Regions from separate parts of the Homo sapiens genome. Here regions 2 and 3 are each linked to region 1. Evidence: promoter capture Hi-C in 16 types of primary human blood cells and fetal thymus (Javierre and others, 2016). All regions are on one chromosome and are shown on one strand. The core of a region is centred on a gene start or on the middle of the fragment in contact, and the rest is flanking DNA. Distances in the headings are between cores, read along the strand shown. Region 1 holds the start of C12orf56 (chromosome 12 open reading frame 56). Region 2 overlaps GNS (glucosamine (N-acetyl)-6-sulfatase). Region 3 overlaps RASSF3 (Ras association domain family member 3).

Region 1 (3,632 bases), core at 505-3,004:
TTTCATTTAATTTTATTCTTTTCTTACAGACTCGTTCAAAACAAGCCATGACTCCTCAGCAAAACAGCTCCATCAAGCGTCTCGCCAACCTCTCCCTTGGGGCTCAGTCAAGGGAATGAAAAAACGAGGCTAGACACCTGTCCCCAACGGAAAAACCAAGAACACACCTGGAGAGCAGCTCAGACAAAGGGAGCCAGGCGGGGAAAACAGTAATTGGAGAGGAGACCGTGCTTCCAGTCTGTTGCTGGTTTACAAGGTAAATCTATTCCTGGACGAAAGGGGTACAGGAACAGCACCCGAAAACCGGCGACAGGCTGTGGCAGGCCCGACGTCTTTCAAGCCCAGCTCCTAGCGTCGACGCCCCTCCTTCCAAGACGTTTCCCAGCAGGCCCTGCGCCCAGTTTGGATCAAGTGAGCCGCCTGAGATTGCCAAGCGTCCTGTGCGCATCTCATTAACGCATCTGCTTATTCATGCATTTATTCTTTTGCTGGGGAGGGGGTGGAGGGGAACGGTGTCTCACTCATTCTGTAGCTCAGGCTGGAGTGCAGGTGGGGCGATCTCGGCTCACGGCAACCTCCGCCTCCCAGGTTCAAGCGATTCTTGTGCCTCAGCCTCCCAAGTAGTTGGGATTACAGGTGCACACGACCACGCCTGGGTAATTTTTGTACTTTTGGTGGAGACGGCGTTTCACCATGTTGGCCAGCCTGGTCTCGAACCCCTGACCCCCGGTGATCTATCCACCTTGGCCTCCCAAAGTGTAAGGATTATAGGCGTGATCCACGGCACCCGGCCTTATGCATTTATTCTTATTGAGCATCTAACATGCTCTAAGCATCGGGGGCAAAAAAGTAAATGAGATATAACAGCACTTAACACACAGCATTTATTTGCACGGGTGTTGGCTTTCTAGCCCTCCAGCGACTGCTTCTAGGTAGGGGCCCTCTTTCGTTTTTGCATCCTCCGAGTCTAGCACAGTGCCTGGCACTGACTAGGTGCTTTGTTAACAAAGGAATGACTTTAAAAGGTATTTTTGATAGGGAGCTCGGTTCTCAAACCTGTAGCCCTACGTGGGGTAGGGGAGGCGGGAGAATGGGTGAACAGGCAGACACGAGGAGAATGGGAGACGTGTTTGTATTAGGAGTGCTCACAGCAATCCACAGCTTCCCTGTGTTCCTCGTTCTCAAATAAGAGGAGGGGAGTCGAGGGCAGGATGGGGCAGCCCTCCCCGCGCAGGAGGGCTGGGTTTGGGGGCCCCAGCCGGGAGTTCTCACTGCGCTCCCGAGCCCGCCTGCCCACCCGCGCCGCTCACCAGGTCAATGGCCACGACGTCCCGCAGAGCCACTACCCGCCGGATGGACTTGGGCGGGTTCTCGGTTAGGTAGACGAGCCGGTCGCTTAGCACCACATACTTGAGGATGTGGTTCTCAGAGTTGGACACCACGATGCATGGCTCGTAGGCGCGGACCGCGTCGTAGACCTCGGGCGGCAGATGCCGCCGCAGGAACACATCCAGGCGGCTGTTCCTGCGCGCGGGGAAGCCGGACGGCAAGGGGCTGGCCATGCCCGGCGCCCGCAGCGTGGCGGAGTGCTGGGACTCGAGGCCCTCAGCTCGCCCTCTCCCCGCCCCCGCGCTGGAACCCGCGCGCCACAAAGCCGCCGGCCACGCGTCGCCTCCTCTCCAGGCGCGGGGACCCGGGCCGCAACTGCAGGAATCGACGCTAGGTCGGCTTCCCTGGAGCGCCCTCCCCAGCCCTGTCCAGCCTCTCGATCTTTGTCCTAACCTCAGACGGCGATGGGCGGGGCAAGACGCTGGTCCTTCAGGCCCGAGTTGATGGGCACCTCGGGCTCATCACCGTGAAGTCCCCTGCGGCCGAAGGGCGGTGGATTTTTAGGGTCTCTCCCGCCCACCCCTAATGCCAGTCCCCACCACTGCGTACTCTGTTGCGGATCACACCATCCAATACAAACTTTATTGGTAATGGAAGCCAGCTTCAATCTGGTTTCCTGTTAGAAACTTGAAAGAGTTTAATTTACCGATTTATTTTTAACAACCCTAGAAACCTATTAAACCCAATCACACAGATTTAGCTTTTGGTTATAACATGGCCTGGCACAGCTTTCTGATATTGTCGGAGTGTAAACATAGGTCTTCTTTCTCCAACCAGTGAGAAAGGGATTTTTTTTTTCTTTTCTCTTTTTTTTTTTGAGACGCAGCTTTGCTCTTGTTGCCCAGGCTGGAGTGCAATGGCGCCATCTCGGCTCACCGCAACCTCCCCCTCCCGGGTTCAAGCGATTCTCCTACCTCAGCCTCCTGAGTAGCTGGAATTACAGGCATGCGCCACCACGCCCAGCTAATTTTGTATATTTTAGTAAAAACGGGGTTTCTCCATGTTGGTCAAGCTGATCTCCAACTCCCGACCTCAGGTAATCCGCCCGCCTCGGCCTCCCAAAGTGCTGGGATTACAGGCGTTAAGTCACCTCGCCCAGCCTTTGAGAAAGGGATTCTTCACATGAATTGATGTGAGCACACCCAAACCAACCTAAGGCATATGGTTTTGTTTCCAATGCCCAGGACAATCTATGCAGGAAGAATGAATGGGTGATGCTGGCATCTTGAAAAGTTGAAGCTGATAGACTGAAGAATGCGGATTACATACCCTGAGGCTGCAGAGGAGTAAGTATTCCTTAGTTTTTACAGGCCAAGAATAACTTACTAATTAGGTTAGAGAAATGAGAAGGGCACAACAGAAATGCTCTAAGTCAGAAGTTCCATTTTTTATTTCGAATCCTAGAAAAGTTATTCTCTTCCCCTCCCCATTGACCCAAAAACCTGATAATGAAACCATATCGTTCATTGCTGTGGCTGCCAGCAACCCTGAATCAAATTTGATATATTCTTTATATTCTCCCTTTCTACATATTTTATTATTGTATACTGTATGTTATAAGCAACTTCAAATCCCTTGTGGAAAGAAGGTATAAATATATTACAATCCATAAACAGATATTGTAGACTACACTAGTACAAAGGGAAAGAGAAATGTTTTGGTCTGGCTAAACTTTTTTTTTTTTTTTTTTTTTGAGACAGAGTCTCCCTCTGTCACCCAGGCTGGAGTGCAGTGGCATGATATCGGCTCACTGCAGCCTCTGCCTCCTGGGTTCAAGCCATTCTCCTGCCACAGCCTCCCAAGTAGCTTGGACTACAGGTGTACACCACCATGCCTGGCTAATTTTTTTTCTGTGTGTATTTTTAGTAGAGACAGGATTTCACCATCTTGGCCATGGCTTGTCTCCTGACTTCAACTGATCTGCCTGCCTTGACCTCCCAAAGTGCTGGGAATACAGGCATGAACCACCGCCATGTAAGGGTCTGGCTAGACTTAAGTCTAAGATCATGTTAAGGAACTCAAGTGAGTAAAGAGAAGTGCCACCTGCTGGCAAAATCTTAAATGACCTAGTAGTTAAAGTTTTCTTAGGATCTCATCACACATCTGAGCCTTCCTAACTTCATAAATGGATGAAAAATGAATGAACTACACCATCCGTAGCAACCTTTATTGATAAAAGATGCCGCATGGCTATTTCCTCCAAAATAAAGACTACTCATTATCTAAACCACTCTAAATAGAGT
Region 2 (3,632 bases), core at 798-3,297, 330 kb after region 1:
CTGTGTGGAAATTCTATGAATTCTAACACTTAGAGCCAGATGTTCAGAAGAAACAGACAGCTGGCTCCATCTACCTTGCATTGGCCAACCAGATGCCAGCCTGGCAGGTCCATGTCCTAGCAGTGGCATGGTCAGGGACTGTTTGGCCACACATCATAATCCAAGAGGTCCAGTCCCTTGACCCTCCATTTAAGATTTAATCAGATGCTGGCTTTAAGTTCCCAGAGTCAGCCAGGGAGTACATGGTTAAAAAACATTAACTGCTATCGACATCTAACTTAATTTGGTTTAAAAGAACATTCTGAGCTAAGTAACTGTTGGAAATTGCAAAGTCAGCACATGTAAACTGGAAGTCTTGTGCTTTTATTTTAGGGACTGGACTTCCTATTTCAGGTAACTGGTACCAAGCTAGGATCTATTTCACTAACTTGGAGGAAAGACCAAAGGAAAGACCAATGGTCAAAATTCTTGACCATTCTTATTGTACTAATGGGATTATCCATATAAAAACAGTTATTTCATTTAAGTGATATAAAATAATAAATATTATCTTTTTATATTGTTACCTGGCTTTAGTTTACTGGTGTCCATGCCACTTTGGCACTATATACATTATTTAAAAGCAAACAATGAACAGTCTATCATCGAGTTTTTCTACTCATTCACATTCATTTGTCTCTAATTTGGACTAAAGATAAAATTTAATACAAAGACGGCTAAAAAATTAAGTGATAACTTTCCATCAACTTAGGACATCATTCTTCCCTCTCTTACAGTCTGAAGGTAGGAACTAAAATATTCCTTTCCCAGTGAAAGTTTGATTTTTAAACTTCATGATCTTCAAGCAAAAGATAAATGACAAGGTTCCTGCCACCAGCAGCTCAAATGCATGGTGTACTGACACCCAGTGTTACTGCTGAAAAGTTACTAAGAAGGACCGTGTGGGGAACAAATCTGACATAGCAGGTGACAGCTAAACATCCTTTATACCTCCATATCGTGCAATGGGCTTATATATTTCAACATCTGAGTTTACACCTTCTATTTTCATTGTGTGTTTAATATATTAAATTCACCAGCAAACATTCAAGTTTCTGTAGTAGGGGTTTCTGAGAAATGAAATGAAGGCATATACTCTTGCAAGCTCTAGGGAACAGGTGAACAGGGCAGCAGTGGGTCGCAGCTTACTTAAAGAAGCCCCAAGTGTCACCAATGCAAACAAGTGGTACCATGACAATAATCACAGCACGAAAATAACAAGAGCCCCATGTTTGGTGGGGAGCAGGGCTGTACCTCTGGCTAAAGTAACAACTGGCAGTGGAGAACAAAAGTTTCAAAAGCTTGATTTTCCCAGCACAACGGGCTGATGCAATTAGAACACAGTATTCCCTCTAAAGCAGAAGAATCATCATCTCACAGCAAAAAGGGCTCCCTTTGCCTTCAAGAACAGCATGTCTACTAGAAAAAACTTGGCCAAGTAAATGAAGAGAAAGGAAACTTACCCGGGGTCAAAAACCCCTGGAGTGCGACAGGTTGGCCCAGAACAGGACTGTAACATCATTAACCGATAGTTCATCTTTCCTAAAAGCTCTGGGTCTATGGTTTTAGCAATGTTAGTGATCTGGTCTGGGTCTGCAGTCAGATTATAGACTTCTACAAACACCTAGAGGACATGAAAGAATGGAGGAAAGAAAAGAGCAAAGGTTAGCCGTGAAGAAATACTCTTAACGTGACTTATTTCTAAAGGGGAAGGGAGGAGGTAGATTAAAAAAAAAAAAAATCAAGGCCCTGGAGACTCTCAATCTGTTTTCAAGATCCTCAAAGAGCTCACTGCTTCCTTGAGATGAGGGAGCATCTGTTCTGGGGGTTCAGTTGCTTCGGGTCTCTAGCCACATGCTAAAAAGGGGCCCCTGCACACCCTGTGCCTTCAGGCAGAGGCAAGAGAGGGTATGGGGAAGAAATGCATTATCTTCTGTAATTAGAACAGAAAGCAGGAGCCTCCAATGGCAAGGTCTCAGAAACAAGACTTGGCAATAAAGTTACTAAAGTGAGAGCGAATATTTAAAGGTGATTTTTGCCCTAGAATTGTGAAGTTCAAATGAGAATGATATGAAAGTACTCTTGCCTGTGTTATACAAATGTTAAGTTTTCCTATTTTAAAAAGTAATTGTGGATATATTGGGGAAGGACACAATACTAATTATTATTTCTAAAATAAGACAGGTCTAACGCAGTACTTTTCCCTCTATAATCTGTATGCTGTTCTCCAAATTGGAGTCAAATGTGAGGCTAGAAAGATGGTAGGTAATTTTGCCTATAATGGCTTCAGGTAGCTGCCCTCACTCACACAATCACTTATAAAGTAGTTATCAAACTGATAAACATTATGGGGGAGCAGGGAACAGGAACTGAGTTTGAGGAAAGCTCTCTTGCTTGTTGTCCAAAGTGCTTATCAGCTGCAAATGGAGTGGAGAATGAGTCCATTTCTGAGAAACACAGATGGGCATCTGTTCCAGATGGTCAGATGAGGGTTGCCAGATGGGGCAGGTGAGCATATGCTGATAAACAGTAAGAAACCACAAGGGACTAGAGTCCATGGGATCCTTCAGATAATCCATACCAACCTGTGTTGGCCAAAAACCACCTTCTTCCATGGATGGACTCCTGGGCCTCTGACCCCCACTCTAATCTATTACAGCAGCATTGGATTATGCTGTGGTGGGAACAGGAGTTTCCGAATACACCAGGTGCTGGTAAGCTTTCTAGAAAATGCTCCAACCAATCTACCAGGGAAGCTAACAGACAAAGCATTTATCATTCTGAAAACGTGAATTGTGCATTTAAAGTGTATATTTGGGTGGTGGTGGGAGTGGAGAGAACTCAATTCAGAAAGATTACAATTAGAGAAGTGAGACATGGCCTTACAACTGAAGGAAACCTAAAGTGAAGCACAGATAAGAAACACAACCTCTTCCCTAGGGAGCAGCCTTGGAATTGCTCTTATGCCACCAAGTCCAGCCAACAAAGCACCAGCAAGAAAGGAGCGGGGGAAGTGCAGGCAGAAGTCCCTCTTACCTCCTGGTCATCAAACTCGCAATACTGCAAATTCCACAATGCTGACATTGTCCTCACACAGGCATAGGTATTGTTATAAGCATCTTCACATACACAGTCTGGGAAGCATTGCTGTAGGGATATTTCAAAAGTTAAATGAAGACAGTTCTTCCATAGTAACAAATACCTAGTTGCCTAGAAGGGCAATCGGCTTGGCTCATGCCGGACATGCAATTTGACAGCAATTAGAAAACCTTCCATGGGGAAGCCAGTAACTCAAAAACAGATGTGAGGTTTTGTTCCTTTGGCTAACTTGATCAAGGTATATGGGTTGTTCCATTTGTAGACTGTTGCCATCCTTGTCTGCTAAACTCCTGACAATAATTACTTAAAATGGGCACCTGTAAAATGTATGGGTTGGCAAGGAGAAGAAATCAACTCAAATGACTCCTTTCTTTTTTTTTTTTTGCGATGGAGTTTTGCTCTTGTCGTGCAGGCTAGAGTGCAGTCGTGCGATCTCAGCTCACTGCAACCTCCACCTCCCGGGTTCACACGATTATCCTTCCTCAGCCTCCTGA
Region 3 (3,632 bases), core at 601-3,100, 300 kb after region 1:
CCAGGCTGGAGTGCAATGGCGTGATCTTGGCTCATTGCAACCTCCACCTTCTGGTTTCAAGCGATTGAATTTTTTTTTAAAATGCTGCTTAAGAGACCCGAAATGCATTCTATGCTGTATGGCATATATGCTGCATTAAAAAGTTTAAGCAGAGTTAGTAATTCAGTGCATATGAATATAGCCACTAGGAATGAAAATAGCCTGTTTTCTTACTGTCCCCTTGTTGTTGACTTCAGTATTTCAGAGCCCTAATTGTGACCTTCCTTTTGTGTATAATAGTCACCAGTTGAGGATGTTGTTTCCTTTGAGCCTGTAGCCTAGACATATCCCCCAAGCTTTAATAAGTTTTGTGGTTTGGCTAGCATCTGCTCCGTTGGATTGTAACCTCGCAAATGGACCCTGACCTTTTGCCAGTAGCTTCAGAGGCATGAGTCTGGGGCCGGCAGTCAGCCACAGCATCAGGAGGCTTCTTCAGTGTCCACATCTGCCCTGCAGACCTTGCCTCTGGAAGCACTTTGCCTGGTGTGTTAACCGCCCTCTGAGGTCATTCCTTTGGGGGCAATCTTTAGTGAAGTTCTGCCACAAACCTCAAGAGAAGAGAACAAAGGAGTGTTTCACCTTCCCGTTTTGTTTTGATATGCTTCTTCCCTAAAGTGCCACCATCCACCCAGCTAAGTGTGTGCTTCTCTCCCTGCTTCAGAATTCAAATGGGATTTACACTGGCTTCATTAAAGTACAGATGGAACTCTGCAAACCTCCACAGACTTCTCCAAATTCTGGAAAACTCTCTCCCAGTAGCAATGGCTGTATGAATACACTTCATATCAGCAGCACAAACACTGTCGGGGAAGTGATCGAGGCCCTGCTCAAAAAGTTTCTCGTGACTGAGAGCCCTGCCAAGTTTGCACTTTATAAGCGTTGTCACAGGGAAGACCAAGGTACGCTGCCAGCTTAAAAGGAAAATGGTCTGTGCTTCTACTTGCATCTGCTGTTCTCATTAGCAGAGGGAAGACTGGTGGGTCTCATCCATGTCAGTTGTGTCAGAGCCTGGAGTCCGATGCTGGAAGCCATGGTGATCTTAGCATGCACTTAGTGCTTCCTGGCTGTCCATATTTTTGAGTTGGACAGTTGAGGGTCTGAGGAGCTTGGAAGCATCCATATGTGATTGGCAGTTACGAGTATTTTGTGGTGTTGGTGGGGGGATGGGGCGGGGGCTGTTTTTGGTGGTTGTTAGGAGTGGCTTTGATTTTAGTTTTCTTTAGGACACAAAAGAGTGCCTCTGTGTTTGAAGTTTTCAATAGCACATTCCACATTTGATGTGCATCAGTACGTGGAGTGGTTTGGTGGATGTGTGCTGAGATCTTGCGACTGGGGAGGCACATGTGCATCACAGCACATTTCAGCGTACTGATGGAAACGGCCCAGCCCTGGGCTCTCCTGTTGCCTTAGCTTGTCTCACTTGGTGTTACGCCGGGACATTTTGGTACTCTGTCCCCCAGAGGCTCATCAAATGAGTGAATAACATTTTGATCTAGGGTCTGACTAAAACTTCATATCCACATTCAGGGGATAGAAAGAGAACATTAAATATTAAATTACTGCGTGAAACAGAATGAGATATTCCAGGTCAGGCAGTGACCAGAAATTGATAACATTGGTGGACAGTAGTGATTCAGTGACTCACTACATGCGATTTGAAATCGGGGTGTGTGTGTGTGTGTGTGTGTGTGTACAATAAACTATTTAAGCTTTCTTTGGTTTTTCTCGGTAAAGCCTAATGTAGCTATAGAAGAAAATATATTAACCTTGACATGATAGTAATGTTCTTCAGTTACACAGGATGAAACCCAGCTCATTGCTGAGTATGCATACATCTTTTTAAAAACAAACCATGGGGCTAGACCCTGTGGAATACAAAGATGAACAGGCCAGGGTTCCTACCTTCAGAGGTCACAAGCTTAGTATTGTGGGGGCTTATATCTATAGGGAAATTGGCACCTGCGATGCAGTGCATCTGGAAGTGCCACAATAATGTAGAGAAGCTCGATGGCATTTTTATCTGCCAGTTTCTTTGCCTGCTCACCTGGACTTTAGCTGTACAATCTGAAAGTAATCGTGACTTGTTGAAATATTACCCCCATGGCTGGCAAATCCTTTAACATGATTGGCAATGTCACTGTATGTGTGTGTCTAGCATGAGACATATATAGCTGTGCTTGAAGCTACCGGAGCTTATATTCTGATTGCTTGGTTTGTAGCTGCTAATTCGCTAATTCTTTTTTTTTTTTTGAGACGGAGTCTCGTTCTGTCACCCAGGCTGGAGGTGCAGTGGCGCAATCTTGGCTCACTGCAAGCTCCACCTCCCGGGTTCACGCCATTCTCCTGCCTCAGCCTCCCGAGTAGCTGGGACTTACAGGCGCCCGCCACCACGTCTGGCTAATTTTTTTGTGTTTTTAGTAGAGACGGGATTTCACTGTGTTAGCTAGGATGGTCTCGATCTCCTGACCTTGTGATCCGCCCGCCTCAGCCTCCCAAAGTGCTGGGATTGCAGGTGTGAGCCACCGCGCCTGGCCTCGCTAATTCTTAATTAATCTGTAGAGAGATTTGCTTTTAGAACTCTTGTTTTTATGTTCTTTGGATGGTATATACATTTTTTTTTAAATTTGTTTTTTGTTTGTTTGTTTGAGACGGAGTCTTGCTCTGTTGCCCAGGCTGGTGTGCAGTGGCACAATCTCGGCTCACTGCAACCTCCGCCTCCTGGGTTCCAGTGATTCTCCTGCCTCAGCCTCCCAAGTAGCTACAATTACAAGTGCCCACCACCATGCCCAGCTAACTTTTGTATTTTTAGTAGAGACAGAGTTTCACCATGTTGGTGGCCAGGCTGGTCTCAAACTCCTGACCCCAGGCAATCTGCCTGTCTCGGCCTCCCAAAGTGCTGGGATTACAGGTATGAGCCACCACGCCTGGCCTTGGTTTTTGAGACAGCGTCTTACTCTGTCACCTAGGCTGGAGTACCATGGCATGATCATAGCTCATTGTAACCTTGAACTCCTGGGCTCAAGTGATGCTCTTGCCTCAGCCTCCTAAGTAGCTAGGACTATAGGCGGGCCCCATTATGCCTGGCTAGTTAGAAAAAAAAATTTTTTTTTTTTGGAGACCAGGGTCCTGCTATGTTGCCCTGGCTGGTCTCGAACTCCAGGCCTCAAGTGATCCTCCTGCCTCAGCCTTTAAGTGTTGGGATTACAGGTGCGAGCCACTATGCCTGGCCTATTTTTATTGTTTTTAAAGGAGTAGTGGACCCTTTTTTAGGTTTCTTATCTTGCCTTTTTTTTTTCATTTAAAAAAAATTTTATTTATTTTTTGAGACAGAGTTTCACTCTTGTTGCCCAGGCAGGAGCGCAATGGCACGATCTCGGCTCACTCCAACCTCCACCTCCCAGGTTTGAGTGATTCTCCTGCCTCGGCCTCCCAAGTAGCTGGGATTACAGGTGCCCGCCACCACGCCCGGCTGATTTTTTGTATTTTTAGTAGAGACAGGGTTTTGCCATGTTGGCCAGGCTGGTCTCAAACTGCTGGCCTCAGGTGACCCGCCCACCTCGGCCTCCCAAAGTATTGGGATTACAGGCATGAGC

What was found. The method cuts DNA at HindIII sites, captures the fragments that hold promoters and counts their contacts. A CHiCAGO score of 5 or more calls a contact.
Region 2: a contact is called between a fragment that was not itself captured here and the fragment with the promoter of C12orf56 in region 1, in 1 of 17 cell types (non-activated CD4 T cells). The highest score is 5.8, in non-activated CD4 T cells.
Region 3: a fragment that was not itself captured here is called in contact with the fragment with the promoter of C12orf56 in region 1 in 1 of 17 cell types (activated CD4 T cells); the score reaches 5.8 in activated CD4 T cells.

What each region holds. Positions count from the first base shown.
Region 1 is chr12:64,389,004-64,392,635 of GRCh38, forward strand. C12orf56 (chromosome 12 open reading frame 56) reads right to left here and starts at 1,755. Exons shown (of 13, transcript NM_001170633.2): 1 at 1,311-1,755. The coding sequence starts at 1,562. The HindIII fragment of the contact is 6,871 bases long and covers 1-3,632 here.
Region 2 is chr12:64,718,520-64,722,151 of GRCh38, forward strand. It overlaps GNS (glucosamine (N-acetyl)-6-sulfatase), which reads right to left. Exons shown (of 14, transcript NM_002076.4): 12 at 3,076-3,186; 13 at 1,503-1,663. Among named protein-coding and RNA genes, the nearest start is that of GNS, 39 kb to the right of the region's middle. The HindIII fragment of the contact is 1,418 bases long and covers 1,339-2,756 here.
Region 3 is chr12:64,687,516-64,691,147 of GRCh38, forward strand. RASSF3 (Ras association domain family member 3) reads left to right here. Exons shown (of 5, transcript NM_178169.4): 3 at 701-938. Among named protein-coding and RNA genes, the nearest start is that of MIR548Z, 67 kb to the left of the region's middle. The HindIII fragment of the contact is 209 bases long and covers 1,747-1,955 here.